Linked DNA regions of Homo sapiens: regions 2 and 3 are each linked to region 1. The links are contacts of gene promoters, found by promoter capture Hi-C in blood cells and fetal thymus (Javierre and others, 2016). All regions are on one chromosome and are shown on one strand. Each heading gives the region's core, a stretch centred on a gene start or on the middle of the fragment in contact. The rest is flanking DNA. Distances are from core to core; before and after follow the strand shown.

Evidence for each region. Contacts are between HindIII fragments. The CHiCAGO score rates a contact against its expected background, and 5 or more counts as called.
Region 2: a contact is called between a fragment that was not itself captured here and the fragment with the promoter of HAS3 in region 1, in 2 of 17 cell types (erythroblasts and M2 macrophages). The highest score is 6.1, in erythroblasts.
Region 3: a fragment that was not itself captured here is called in contact with the fragment with the promoter of HAS3 in region 1 in 1 of 17 cell types (megakaryocytes); the score reaches 6.1 in megakaryocytes.

What each region holds. Positions count from the first base shown.
Region 1 is chr16:69,103,660-69,108,821 of GRCh38, reverse strand. HAS3 (hyaluronan synthase 3) reads right to left here and starts at 3,169. Exons shown (of 4, transcript NM_001199280.2): 1 at 3,035-3,169. RefSeq lists a silencer at 2,543-2,822 and an enhancer at 2,956-3,504. The HindIII fragment of the contact is 7,234 bases long and covers 768-5,162 here.
Region 2 is chr16:68,665,829-68,670,990 of GRCh38, reverse strand. All of the region lies in intron 2 of CDH3 (cadherin 3), which reads right to left. Among named protein-coding and RNA genes, the nearest start is that of CDH3-AS1, 22 kb to the right of the region's middle. The HindIII fragment of the contact is 1,588 bases long and covers 1,719-3,306 here.
Region 3 is chr16:68,819,635-68,823,644 of GRCh38, reverse strand. It overlaps CDH1 (cadherin 1), which reads right to left. Exons shown (of 16, transcript NM_004360.5): 12 at 1,420-1,644; 13 at 19-246. It also overlaps the pseudogene FTLP14. Among named protein-coding and RNA genes, the nearest start is that of TANGO6, 22 kb to the left of the region's middle. The HindIII fragment of the contact is 1,659 bases long and covers 421-2,079 here.

The DNA of each region.
Region 1 (5,162 bases), core at 1,920-4,419:
GGGAAAAAGCAGCAGCTTCCCTTTCTCAAGACAGTTATTAGAGAAACTTTCCCTGTGTCCTCCACTTTCTCACCTTTTACTTGAGAGGCAGGAAAGAAAGGGAAAGCAGGGGGAGAGGCAGACCAGGAAATGCAAGCTGGGGAGTGGACAGCCTCCTAGAGCCCAGGGCTGAAGAAAGCACAGGGAACTGCAGCCACCACTGCAGCAGCCTCCACAGTGGCTGCCTGGGCATCCCATCCGCTTGGTCCTAGTGCCCGTGCAGCATGCGTCTCTGTGCGTGTCCCCCTGCCCAGCCACTCCTGGAAACAATGCCCGGTTTCCATTTGCAACTAAGTCAGGGCTCCTAACATCTCCCCTGTTGGAAACAGCTGTATTTTATAACAGCCCAGGACTTGGCACTAGAGAATTGGGTTTAAGACAGCACTTCTGCCTCCTGGCTGCCTGACCTTGCCCCAGTTCTCTGAGACTTGGTCTCCCCATAGCACAATGGGAGTTCTAATGGATTCCTGCCTCATGTCTCAGGTAAGTCATTTCCCTAAAAATGGAAACACTTCCGGCCCCGAAGAGCTACCCTAGTGGTGAGGGTGACTGTGGTTTCCTCCAGAGCAGGTGGGGAGGGGGATGTGAGGGAGGGGAAAGAAAAGGTGGCAAGGATGGCTGCCGGCCTTCCCATTCTGACCCACACTATCTCCTCTCTGCCACCTGCCTGATCTAGAGAACCCCATGTTCACTGAGGTCTACAGACAATGATGCCTCGCTTCCAAGCTTGCTCCAACTCTTAGGTCTCAGGAAACGGAGCCCCCAAAACAAACACACTTTCCTGTCGGGACGCCTCTCACGTAGAAGGGACGAAGAACACGCAGTCACTGCCTAAATCGACCTGAGACTCCGGCACTAGCAGCCTTCCAGCAGCGTTGGCCCGAAAAGAGCTGCTGGCAGCCTAGCCTCTCCGGGAAGCGCGGCCTCCGGGCGCTCTGCCCCACCGTCCCGGGGAGCCCGCCGTGTGCTTCCTTCACAGGACTCCCAGCCCTCCCTGTTGCCACCCTACTGCTCGCGCCTGCGGCCCAGGAGTCCCCAGGCCTGCATCCGCAGCCTAGGAGCGCCCCCATTCCCCTCCGGAGCTTACATGCTGAAGGGGCGCGGCGGGACCCCCCTGCCTGCCTGCGCTCTGGGTAGGGGAAGGGGGCGCCAAGGCCAGCCCAGCAACCTGGGCGCTGGCGCCCCGCCTCGGTGCAGTGCCGGAGGCGGCGCCCACCAGGTCAAAGCAGCCGCGAACGCACTCGCCACGCTTCTCATCCCCGCTCGAGCCTCGCCTCTTGGCAAAGGCGGCGCCGGCCACACCCACGTGCCGCTTTCCCACGACCCAACCGGGAAGGAACGGAAAACCCAAGGGATCCCAGTCGGACCAGGCCCTGCTCTTCCTGGTACCCCAGCTACCTTGGCAAAGTGTGCCTGTAGACAAAGGCGCATCCCCGGTGTAGCCGGCCCTCTCCTTCCCTGGGCGGGACCCCTCCCCCGCAGGAATTAGAGGCATTACCCAGGTTACTACCCCCACCCCCAAATAGAGGCCCCCAAAATGTCCCTCAGCCAGATACCCCACGTGCAATCAGGCGCTGGTGCAGGCTGTGGTCGAGGTTCTCCTGCCCAGACCTGGGGCGGGGGGCTGTGTCACCCCAAGCCGGCAGAGGCTGTGGGGTGATCCTACAGCCTGGACCGCCGCCTCCTCATGCCCTTCGCTCATCCACGGGAGCCCAGCCCAGGCAAACTAACGCGCACTCGGCTTTCAAGGGCACAAGGTTGGGGGCGCTCTCAAGTCCGGCTCCCAGGACTACGGAAGGAGAACCCCCAGTCAAGGACGCACGCTTCTCCATCAAGCCTCCGAAACTTTGAGGGGCTGCTGGTGTGCAGCGTCTCTCCCGCTGACAGGTGCGCCCCGCGGCAGGGCCACACGCAGCGGCATGGAAACTTGTGCGCCCAACGGGGCTCCTCCTCTTGTGCCCGGCCGCCCTCCGGGCCCCTCCAGGCCGGCCAGGGGAGGGGAGCCCACTCCCCCGGACACGTGCTGCCGCGGCCCGGCTAACCCGCAGGAACGTGGGCGCCTGGTACCTTGGTGCCCGGACAGGTGCAAACCCCCGGGAGGTCGTAGAAGGTGCGGGGGAGGGGTACCCCAGCCAGCCTGGAGCCCCGCACCGGCGTCCGCCTCCTAATTCATTCACAAAACAGGAGCCGCCGGGGAGGAGGGAGGCGAGGCTGGAAGAGGAGAGGATGCAGGAAGAAAGGGAGGAGGGGTCAGTGGGGAGGGGGCTGCAGGAACGGCCGCCGGGAAGCCCGGGGCTGCCGCCGCCCCCAACCCGCCTCCCCGCGCCGGACGCGGCGCCCGCAGGGCTGGGAGCTGGCCGGGTGCGGGGGGCTCGGCGAGAGGCACCCCTGCCACCCGGCGCGCCCCGGCCTCGGCGCAGCCCCGCGCGGCCCTCCCCTCCTGGGTGCCGGCCGGCCCGCGCTCACCGTGCCGCCGGCTGCCGCGCTCCGGAGCTCAGCAGGCCCGCGGCGGCTCCATGCCCCTCCTCCCGCTCCGCTCCGCGCCGCCGCGCGCTCCGACTGCCGCCTGCCCAGCCGAGCCGCCCTTAAGTACCCGGCGCGTGCCCGCCAGGAGAGGCGCCTCCCCCGGCCCTGGGGCCGGGAAAGTTGACCAGAGTGGGAGGGCCCCCGCGGGCGCACCCCCGACCCCGCGCGGTCCCAGGGAGCGCCACAAGCCAGCGCTCGGCGGGGACGCCTAGTCCCGGGTGGACGCGGCTCCGGCTCGCAAGACTCGCAGCCCCTGCGCCCTCTCCGAAGCTGGGTCCCCCGAGTGGGGCCGAAGGCCACGCGGCTCTGCAATCGCCCTGGGACCAGCTGCCAAGGCAAGACGGTCATTGGGCTCAACCTAGAACCTGAAGCGTCGTTAACTTTCCAGATACCACGCAGGGACTTCCAAAATTGTTACTCTCCCTCCCCGCCCCCACGCCCCGCTCTCTAACCCGCAAAACCTACTCACCCTGCAAGGAAGGCGAGCTGAGAGCACTCTTCCCCGACTTCTGCACGCGAAGGGGCAGTTCGCTGTCTAGGGGGCTCCCGAAAGCCAAGGCAGCAAAACCTTCCTGCTGGCAGGAAAGAGGCGCTGAAGAGAATTGTCAAATGTAAAAAGGCTGGTCAAAGAAGGTGTTAACAATTGTGACAGCTTAGCTTTGAATTCCGCAGTGGGGCGCTGATGACTTTAAGGCGGTTTGCAAAAGCTGCAAACGGTTTTGTAGGAACCTTGGAGGTTCCGGTGTCTTAAAGCCAAAACAATTCCTCCTCTTCTTTTTCACACCTTTATTTCCGACATCCATGACCTCCTAAATTCCCAACTGACCTTATCGACAGTAGTTTTCAGGTCCCTAAAAGATAGTGCTAGACTCGAGTAAAGTGAGATGAAGTGAGTTGGGGTGCACTGGGGTGGGGTGAGATCGAGGAGGGGGGAGAGTTGTTAGCAGAGACAAGAAGTTTAGAACCAGCTGAAGGCGATGAGTTTTTACATCTCAGGAAAACTTGAAGAGAAATTATAATTAATAACTAGTTTTTAAAAAATGAGTGGCCGGGCGCCGTGGCTCAAGCCTGTAATCTCAGCACTTTCGGCGTTACGGGCACCATGCCCGTAATCCCAGCTACTCGGGAGGCTGAGGCAGGAGAATCGCTTGAACCCCGCAGGTGGAGGTTGCAGTGAGCTGAAATCGCACCACTGCACTCCAGCTTGGGCAGCAGAGCGAGACTCCGTCTCCAAAAAAAAAAAAAAAAAAAAAAAAAAAAAAAACCAAAAAACAGAGTTTACCTGTTTTCCAAATACACCTGATATAATTTCTATCACTTCTTCCCAAGCTGCAACAAATTTATAGGCACCTGAGCTGCAGTCTATAAACTTCTCCTCTCGCAAGTTTTAGGGGCTCAGGGACTTGCCTGCCCACCATTGCTCAGTCTGGGCCACAGACCTCACACCTCAGTCCCCGCAGGCAAGCAAAGACCCCAGGCACACCTACTCCACACAATCCCATCTTACATTATTGGCCAGGCACAGTGGCTCACACCTGTAGTCCCAGCACTTTGGGAGGCTGAAGATGGAGGATCGCTTGAGGCCAGGAGTTCAAGACCAGCCTGGGCAACAAAGCGAGACTTCCCCCGTCTCTACAAAAATTAAAATTAAAAAATTAGCCAGGGCCGGGTGCAGGCTCACGCCTGTAATCCCAACACTCTGGGAGGCCGAGGTGGGCGGATCACGAGGTCAGAAGTTAGAGACCAGCCTGGCTAATATGGTGAAACCCTATCTCTACTAAAAAATACAAAAATTAGCCAGGCATGGTGGCACGTGCCTGTAGTCCCAGCCACTGGGAAGGTTGAGGCAGAAGAATCGCTTAAACCCAGGAGACAGAGGTTGCAGTGGGCCAAGATTATGCCACTGTACTCCAGCCTGGGCGACAGAGTGAGACTCCATCTCAAAAAATAAAAATAAAAAAAAAAAGAAAAAGAAAAGAAAAGAAAAAAAAAAAAAACATTAGCCAGGCATGGTGGAGTGTGCCTGTAGTCCCAGCTACTAGGGAGGCTGAGGCAGGAGAATTGCTTGAGCCCAGGAGGTCAAGGCAACAGTGAGCTATGATCGAACCACTACACTCCAGCCTGGGTAACAGAACAAGACGCTGTCTCAAAAACAAATTCCTGGACTCCAGCAGCCCTTCCGCCTCAGCCTCCCTAGGAGCTAGTCCTATAGGCATGCTATCCAGCCCAGCTGCCAATGTGTTTTGAACTTCAGATGGCCTGAGGGGCCCTACCAGAGCCATTCCTACTTACACAAAGATGGAGAAGAAGCCTTAGGTTGGTGGAGGGGAGGGCTCTAGAGTCTGCCAGTAAGCCCCAGTGTCTTCATCCCACAGATGGGATTGCTAGGCGGACTGATAGGAAGTTTGAAGAGATTGGCTGAGGGTAAGCGCTCAGCAAGTGTTAGTAAACCAGACAGCAGCATCCTTTGCCCATGCCACGGGTTCTACATGGCCATCCCTCTAGAGCACTCAGTGACAGCAAGTTCAAGGATCAGTGTTTGAATAAAAGAAAACTGCCTGGCCGGGTGTGGTGGCTCACACCTGTAATCCCAGCAC
Region 2 (5,162 bases), core at 1,263-3,762, 440 kb after region 1:
AGCGATTCTCTTGCCTCAGCCTCTTGAGTAGCTGGGACTACAGGAGTGCACCACCACGCCCAGCTAATTTTTGTATTCTTAGTAGAGACAGGGTTTCACCATGTTGGCCAGGGTGGTCTCGAACTCCTGGCCTCAAGCGATCCACCCGCTTTGGCCTCCCAAAGTGCTGGGATTACAGGCATGAGCCACTGTGCCAGGCTGATTCAGTATTATTTAAAGCTGGGCTGAAGACCCTGTGAAAGTCCCTCAAGAATCCATTAATTGGAAATATCACTGCTGATGTAGAACTTGAATTAACTTATTAGGTATTTATGCTTTCTCATTTGGAAGATGGATATTACACTTCACAGAACCATCATGAGTAACGTACAAGTTGAAACTCCAAACCATGATGTAGTCCCAGCTGCTTAGGTAACTGAGGTGGGAAGATACCTTGAGCCCAGGAGGTCGAGGTTACAGGGATCCATGCTCTTGCCACTGCACCCCAGCTGGAGACAGAGCAAAACCATTTCAAGAAAAATAAACCCCAACCGGGAATGTGTAGACCCCCAGAACCTTACAGACCATTACCCACCATTTACCACATGAGGAAACTAGGGCTGGGGGTGAGGGGTGGTGGCGGTGAGATGACTAGCCAAAGGTCGAACAGCTTGGAATTAGAATGAGAACCCAGGGTGGTCAGGTTCTAAAGCCAGGTTCGTCAATGCAGCATTCATTCAAGAACTACTTAAGTACTAATGATGTTCTTTTTTTTTTTTTTTTTTTTTGAGACAGAGTCTTGCTCTGTTGCCCAGGCTGGAGTGCAGTGGCGCAATCTCGGCTCACTGCAAGCTCCGCCTTCTAGGTTCACGTCATTCTCCTGCCTCAGCCTCCCGAGTAGCTGGGACTACAGGCGCCCGCCACCAGGCCCGGCTAATTTTTTGTATTTTTAGTAGAGACAGGGTTTCACTATGTTGGTCAGGCTGGTCTCAAACTCAAGTGATCCACCCACCTTGGCCTCCCAAAGTGAGTGACTAAAGGTCACTTTTATTTTTTTGGTAGATACAGGGTCTTGCTGTTTCCCAGGCTGGTCTAGAACTCCTGGGCACAAGTGACCCTCCCACCTTGGCCTCCCAGGGTGCTGGGATTACAGGCATGAGCCACTGTGCCTGGCCACTTTTCTCAATCCTAAAACAGCCCTCTTCCTAAGGGAAGATCTTTAGCCAGTAAAGGGCTAACCAGACAATTCTGTCAATTATTTCCTTTAAGGAGAGACTCAATGACTCCAATCCTCTCCCACCAGGTAACCCAGAAGGAGGCTAATGGATTGACTCCCCTACTACTCAGAAGACTTAATCCCCAAAACTCTGAGAGCTGCTACCGCCCACCCCCCCCGCCACCCCACCAGGAGCTAGAAATCCTCTTCCCGCTGTCTACAAAATCTGCTTCCCACTAGAGTGTACAACTCACTCTACTACCCTGTCTTCTGGCATATTTCCACTGTTACATGGTTCCACATATTTGTAGCACAGTATCTGGGCTGTGCATCTATTTGTAGAAGGGACAGTGTCAATAATCAAGGGGAAGCCAACGGTCATGTATTATAGGTGTATGTGCCTCCCACTCAGGGTGCATATTCCAGATACATCTGAGGAGCTGGCCCCATCAGCTCTAAACTGCTTTGAGTTGGGTACAGAGCACAACCAAGGGGCAATGGTCCAGACTGATAGGAATAAGCTTCAAACACCCACTCTGCTCAGGATACCCAGCTAAGTGTTTTCCTACCCAAATCCTCACAAAATAACCTGCAATGTGGTATTACTTCTCCCAATCTGACAACTCAGGAAACAAGAGGCTGCCAGGGGTTGAACTGCCCCAGGAAGCAGCAAGATCAGGTTTCAAATCCTGAAGGCAGGGAAATAATGAAGAATACGAAATTTGGAGTCCAGAAGACTTGGATTCCAATCCCTATAATGTCACTTATCTATCACATGATTGGGCAAATTGTATGATTATATAGAAGCTCAGTTTCCTCATCTGGAAAATGAAACAATACCTACCTCATCAGGTTATTAGGAAGATTAAATGGGATAGTGTTCAAACAGCACTGAATACTGTGCCTGGCCCAGAGTAAGTAAGGTAAGCTCTCAATAAAAAGGTACCTTAGACTACTTACAATTAACCTAGGCTTCTGACATCCACATCCTGGCCTCTTTCTATGTATACCATCGAAAAATTCTCTCTCAAAGTGGGAAGAAGTTAGCTACAGCTGTATGCTTTACTCAACGGATGAAGCTGATCAAAGATGGTGACACATGGGACCAGAGGGCACAATAGGGAACTGGCTCAGTCTGCATTTGGAGAGGGCTGTTTTGTAGGGGTCCTCTGTGGTTTACCAGAGGAAGCAGAAGACGGAGATTTCATGAAAAAGCTGGCCTTTCTAGGGAAACTTGCTAGGCACATGTAGGAACATGAGTAGTCTTCTCTGCAAGCTATGAGTCAAGACATAGTAAATGGTAAGCCCTGGGGCAGATCATTACAATTTCCTCCCAGATGCTTCCTGGCACCACTGGCTTGTATCACTAGTTTCATAATGAAACTGATACGAAACCAGGTCTCATCATCACTCATCCCTCCTTTACCCCATCTTTTAATAGTCAGCGAAGTAAACTGACTCCTGTTCCTAACTGCAGCATGGTTCCACAAGGCCACACATCTTGGCCAAATCACGGGGGCATGAATGGGCTTGCATCAAACTCTTTCTGGGGCAACTTGATGATGAGCACATGGGGCAATAGTTCAGAATTTAAGGCTGGAAAATGAAAGCCTAAACATAGCTCTTTCTTCCACACCCATCCAGGGCTTCAGACAGTCATTTGACCGCATTAGCCTCAGTTTCTCCCACAAGGATTCTGAATTACAAGGTCAATGAACCTGATGAAGAGGTGCCTGCTCTACCAATATAAATGGACAGCTTTTAGCACTGAGCCTAAATGTACATTCCCTAAAATACTGTCGGGGAAGGGAAAAAGGGAATCAGTAACCTGAGGCTGCTTCTAGAGAAATTAACAATTAATATCATAGGACACATTATAGGTAAAAATAAATAAAAAGAGAAATTAACAACAAAAAAGCCAGAGCTCTATGTATCTGCACTCGATAGAAGACATCCAATGGAAACCAGGAGTCTCTGGCCTATGTTCAAAGCTCCTCTCTAAAGATCATCCTGCCAAGCCTGGCCTCGGGTCCTGAACTGGCGCCACTAATAAAACTTGGGCAAGAAGAGTTTGGTCCCTGGGGTACTAGAGCTATTGGGAAAAGAAAGCTTTTTAAATAGACTTATAAGAATTGATGGATGCTGGGCTAAGAACTCATTCCTCTTATGTTCCAGGCCTGCTTTTAGGTTGGAATTTGCCTAGACACCTCCATACTCCCAAGGGAATACCCTTGAAGGTCAGGAGCTTGTCTCTTCCTGGAGGTGCTATCTGGTCCTGATGTCCAACATTACTGGATGTTCTGGCAAAATAAAACCACCCATCTTTCCGTAGACAAAATGTCCATCAAGTGATCACTCTCCACCAATTTCCCTACTGATCTCTGGGTATTTTGACTAGAGGAAAAGGAAAACATCATCTTAAACATATTGTGGCCAAAAGGCAGCCTGGGGAGTTGGGGGAAGAGATTGCCTAGGAAATTTCTATTCTAGCTTGCTTTAGGGACATACCTAGCTCACAAAACAAACAAATTTGTCCTTATAGCTATCACTACCTTCTGTTAAGGGATTGGGATAAGAGGGCACCGGGGAAAAGTAGGTGGAAGTGACTTGAAGAAAGATTCTGGCATTTTTCCTAAGTAAAACTACATATAGAAAAAAGTTCACCAACTAAGAAATACAAATTAAAAGGGCAAGTGCTGTGTCACAGTTGGGAACCGGGTGCTGCTATATATTGCTAGGGGTGGGGGAATATTAACTGGCACAACCTTTCTGGCAAATTAAAATGCCTTAAACAAGCCCATTGACCCAGGAATTGTGCCAAGATACCATCCCAGATGTGACAAAACCATACCTGCCAGGATGTTCGTGACTTGCTTAATAGGGAAAAAAAGCAAAAAAAGGTCTCAACAACCTAACTCTCAACAGAACAGTTAATTATGCTGTGCCACAGTCACCCAAATGCCTAATCTACAGCCTTAAATACTATAAAAGAAAACCTACCCAGGAAAAAGTATTTTGCAGAGGGGGGAAAAAAGCAGGTCATAAAGCCATTTATAGCATAAGGCTGACAATTATTATATAAAATATTTATAGTTTTATTCTTGTACCAAAAAGAAGAGAGAGAGAGGGGCTGAGCCCTGGTGCCAAGGCTGTGGTCTGCCTCTCTCCGTCACCAAGTATTTTCCACGCACAAGAAAACCAAGATGGTGGCCAGTGAGCCAGACCCGTTTTGAGGAGACCCACGGGAGAGGTCATAGGGCAGCAAAGTGGGGTGGGGGGAAGAGGCTGCACATGCTGGGATCCCAAGAGGCCTTGGGGCTCCTGGATTCACTTGGGACCCACCCCTGGGCATGCTGGGAGGCCCATTGCCCTTGCCTAGCAAGCTTGGGGCAGCTCTGCAAGGGCCTGCCAGAGCCCTGGGTGCACCTATTGGGTGTCCAGGCCTTTTTCCCCAGAGCTGTAAGCAGAGCAGCTCTTGGAGGGCAACAGAACCCAGGTGGAGTGCAGTTACACCTGGCGGATGGCACCCATCTATACACAGGCCCCCTGGACCTGGATCTTCTCACAGATAGGGCTGACGGGGTGTGTGAGGGCCTCAGCTTGCAGCCCTTCTCTGACCCAGCCAAGCAGAAGAGGAAGCTGGGATACTGGGGAGGCAAGCCTGGAGAGTGAGTGGTGAAATCATTCAGACTCGGGCCCTCTGCCTCAGATCAGATACCCTCAACAAAGACTCAGGTGGAAAGATTGGGAAATGGATGATTGATTTCAAATATTCCTTTGAAAAGACAAAGGTCCCGTATGGGTGGTAGGCCCCCATTTTGCCTTCCAGTTTTTCCACAGTAAACATGTATTTGATTTTCAATCAGAATTTGATGTGAGTTTTTCCCCCGACTAGAAAAATTATATGGCAACCCCATGTCGTTGAGGGTGGAGAAAGCAGTTCCAGGGGAGTTTTGGCTGACGAAAG
Region 3 (4,010 bases), core at 1-2,500, 280 kb after region 1:
CTTGCCAGCTGGACTTACTTAGCAAAGCAAGAATTCCTCCAAGAATCCCCAGAATGGCAGGAATTTGCAATCCTGCTTCGACAGGCTGTGCCTTCCTACAGACGCCAGCGGCCCCTTCACAGTCACACACGCTGACCTCTAAGGTGGTCACTTGGTCTTTATTCTGGTTATCCATGAGCTTGAGATTGATTTTGTAGTCACCCACCTCTAAGGCCATCTTTGGCTTCAAAATGATAGATTCTTGGGCTGGAGAAAGCAATAAAAAGAAATGATGAGACCAGGGGAGGAAAATAAAAAGCTCATTCCAGAATAAAATTGCTAGTGAACTAAAGACACCCGCAAGCCGAGTGAAGAGAGCAGAGCTGCTTGGGTTTTATTTAGGTATGTACTTTTTTTTTTTTTTTTTTGCTGTAAAAAGCTTTATTTCCATTTGGTCTAAGGCTTGGGAGAGGGCTCTAGAGTTGGTTTAAAAAAGCTGCCTAGTGGCTGGAGGGAGAGGCTTAGGCAGAGCGGGGCTCTTCAGATGTCGCTGGGTTCGGTAGGCTCCCGTGTGCCTGAGGGTGAACCTTTTTGCCCAGCCCGGCCTGGAGGCCGGCTGGCCTGTGAAGGTTGGTCAGGTGGTCACCTATCTTCTTGATGAGTTTTACTTTTTCATCTAGGAAGTGGCTCTCCAGGAAGTCACAGATATGGGGGTCTGTGCAGGTGGAACCCAAGGCATGAAGATCCAAAAGGGTCCAGTTCAGGTTCTTCTCCAGGGCCAGAGTGACTTCCATCGCACCCAGGGTTTTACCCCATTCATCTTTACATGGCTTCTGGATGTCCGGGAAGACAGTGCGGCCGCCACACTGGTTTTGCATTTTCAAGGGACACTCAGCGCCCTTGTGCTTCTCCTTGGCCAATTTGTGGAAGAAGTGGTGCACACCTTCCAGATCCACATCGTCATGGTGGAAATAGAAGCCCAGAGAGAAGTAGGTGTAGGAAGCCCATATATGCAAATTGACCAGGCAGTTGACAGCTGCCTCCACCTCGGTAGAATAGTTCTGATGAATCTGGGAGCTCACGATTGGTTGGCAAGAAGGAGCTAACCACAAAAATGGTGTTGTTTGGTCCCAGGAGCAGGAGGTAGCAGAGAAGATGGTCCTGGTTGCAAGTGGAGAGGGGAGTGGAGGGTGGCTAGAGGCTGGGAGAGGGAGCCCTGCTTGGGTTTTAGATTACTGGGTAGCATGCTACAAAGTTAGATACCAGGAAAGGAAAAAGACCTTTGGAGCAAGGCCTCAAAGACAGAAGGGACAAGGAAGCAAGTATCAATGGAAGGGGTGACATCTAGAAGTTGAGAAGGGAAATTGAAAGGTGGGGATCTGGGGGAAGGGAAGCATGGCAGTTGGAGCAAAGTTGCCAAAATAAAACTCAGGTACCCACTTGGGTCGTTGTACTGAATGGTCCAGTTGGCACTCGCCCCGTGTGTTAGTTCTGCTGTGAAGGGAGATGTATTGGGAGGAAGGTCTGCATCAATGATGTTTATGACCTGAGGCTTTGGATTCCTCTCACAGAAGAATATAGTTCGAGGTTCTGGTATGGGGGCGTTGTCATTCACATCAGACAGGATCAGCAGAAGTGTCCCTGTTCCAGTAGCAACTGGAGAACCTAAGAGAAAATACACAGAAAATGTGGCAGCTTGGCAACAGTAATGAATCCCCATTGCCTTCCACCAGACCAAGTCTAGATCTTGTCCTGGCTCTTCAGTGGTCCCTCACCAGGCCCCACTCCACCCGCAGAACCTCCTGTCCCACCAATCCCAAAGGACCTCCACTCCCAGGTGGGCAGGTCTCTGGCCGTTTTACACAGACAACTTATTCCCACCTTGATAACAATTATTCAAGTTATTCCTCACACCAAGAACACACTCCTCCTTCTTCACATATCGTTATTCATTCACTGAATTTTAACTACTCCAAGAAGTCCTATTGCCTGCCTGTTGTTTCCCTAGTTCTCCTTTTTCTGCACTTTCCTGCCATTTGAGGTCATTAACAAAGCATTGAGTCTTTTTATTTATTTTAATTTTAAGCCTGACTAGAAGCTTAAAATCAAAGGGGATGAGTTGGGTCTTTTGAAGTCTCTGCAAATTGGTTTTCAAAATAGATTGGGGAGTTCACATACGCTTTTTTTTTTTTTTTTGAGGCAGAGTCTCACTCTGTCACCCAGGCGGGAATGCAGTGGCATGAACACAGTTCACTGCAGCCTCTACCTCCTGGGCTTAATCTCCCACCTCTGCCTCCCTAGTAGCTGAGACTACAGGCGCATGCCACCATGCTTGGCTAGTTTTTAAATTTTTTTTGTAGAGAGGGGGTCTTATCATGTTGCTCAGGCTGGTCTTGAACTCTTGAGCTCAAGTGATCCTCGCATCTTAGCCTCTGAAAGTGTTGGGATTATAGGCGTGAGCCACTGCGCCCAGCCCATCCACACTTCTGTTTGCATTTCTTTTATATCTTGACACAACACGGAGCATATGGTAGTAGGAAAAATTGGTACCCAGGGAACTATCATCAATATTAGTATACGATACGGATACAAAACAACAGAAGAATCCATCTCAAACCTATAAATAGATATGTCTAGATGGCATGACTGTAAATTTTTAAAACTTTTTTCTCATGTAAATTTTATTTTTTAACAATGAGCACACGTCATTTAAAATTAACTCAAGGAGGCCAAGCATGATAACTCATGCCTGTAATCCCAGCATTTTGAGATTATGGGCAGTATGTTGCCCAGGCTAGTCTTGAACTCCTGGCCTCAAGCCATCTCCCACCTCAGACCCCCAAAGTGTTGGGATTACAGGTGTGACCCTAGCACCCAGCCTATAAATGTATTTAAATACACAGAAGCAGTCTGGAAGGACCCACACCTAACTGATTTAACACCTAACTAATTTCACCCACATGGGTATTAACATTTTTCAGGTAAAGGAATTGAGGGACATAAAAATTAAACAGCAGGCCAGGCACGGTGGCTCACACCTGTAATCCCAGCACTCTGGGAGGCCAAGGTGGGCAGATCACAAGGTCAGGAGTTCAAGACCAGCTTGGCCAATATGGTGAAACCCCGTTTCTACTAAAAATACAAAAAATTAGCTGGGCGTGGTGGTGCACACCTGTAATCCCAGCTACTTGGGAGGCTGAGGTAGGACAATTGCTTGAACCTGGGAGGCGGAAGCTGCAGTGAGCCAAGATTGCACCACTGCACTCCAGCCTGGGTGACAGAGCAAGACTCTGTCTCAAAAAAAAAAAAAAAATTAAACAGCAAATCCAAGGTCACACAAGTATTAAGCTTTGGAAATGGATTGTAAACCATCATTACCTGGTTCCCTTAGGGAAGGAATAAAGAGTGAGTAGTGAAAAGTAAGTTCTGTTTGACCAAAATTACTTGAAAAAACAATTTTTTTTTTGGAGACAGAGTCTTGCTCTGTTGCCCAGGATGGAGAGCAGTGGCGCAATCTTGGCTCACTGCAGCCTCCACCTTTCAGACTCAAGCAATCCTACCACTTCAGCCTTCTGAGTAGCTGGGCCTACAGGTGCTCACCAACACACTCAGCTAATTTATGTACTTTTTGTAGAGACAGGGTTTTGCCATGTTACCCAGGCTGGTCTTGAACTCCTGGGCTCAAGTGATCCTCCCACCTCAGCCTCTCTAAGTGCTGGGATTACAGGTGTGAGTCACCGTGCCCAGCCCACTTGAATTTTTGATAATAAGAATGCCTTTGTTTAAGAATAAAAGAGAAATCTTTTGCAGCAACATGGATGAAACTGGAGGCCATTGTCTCAAGTGAAACGAATCAGACATATAAGGAGAAATACTGCATGTTCTCACTTAGAAGTCGGAGTTCGATAATGTGTACACATGGATGTAGATTGTGGAATGATAGACAATGGCAGCTGGGAAGGGTCCAAGGGGTGGGAGGGGGTAGATGATGAACAATTACTTAATGGGTACAATGCATGTTATTTGGGTGA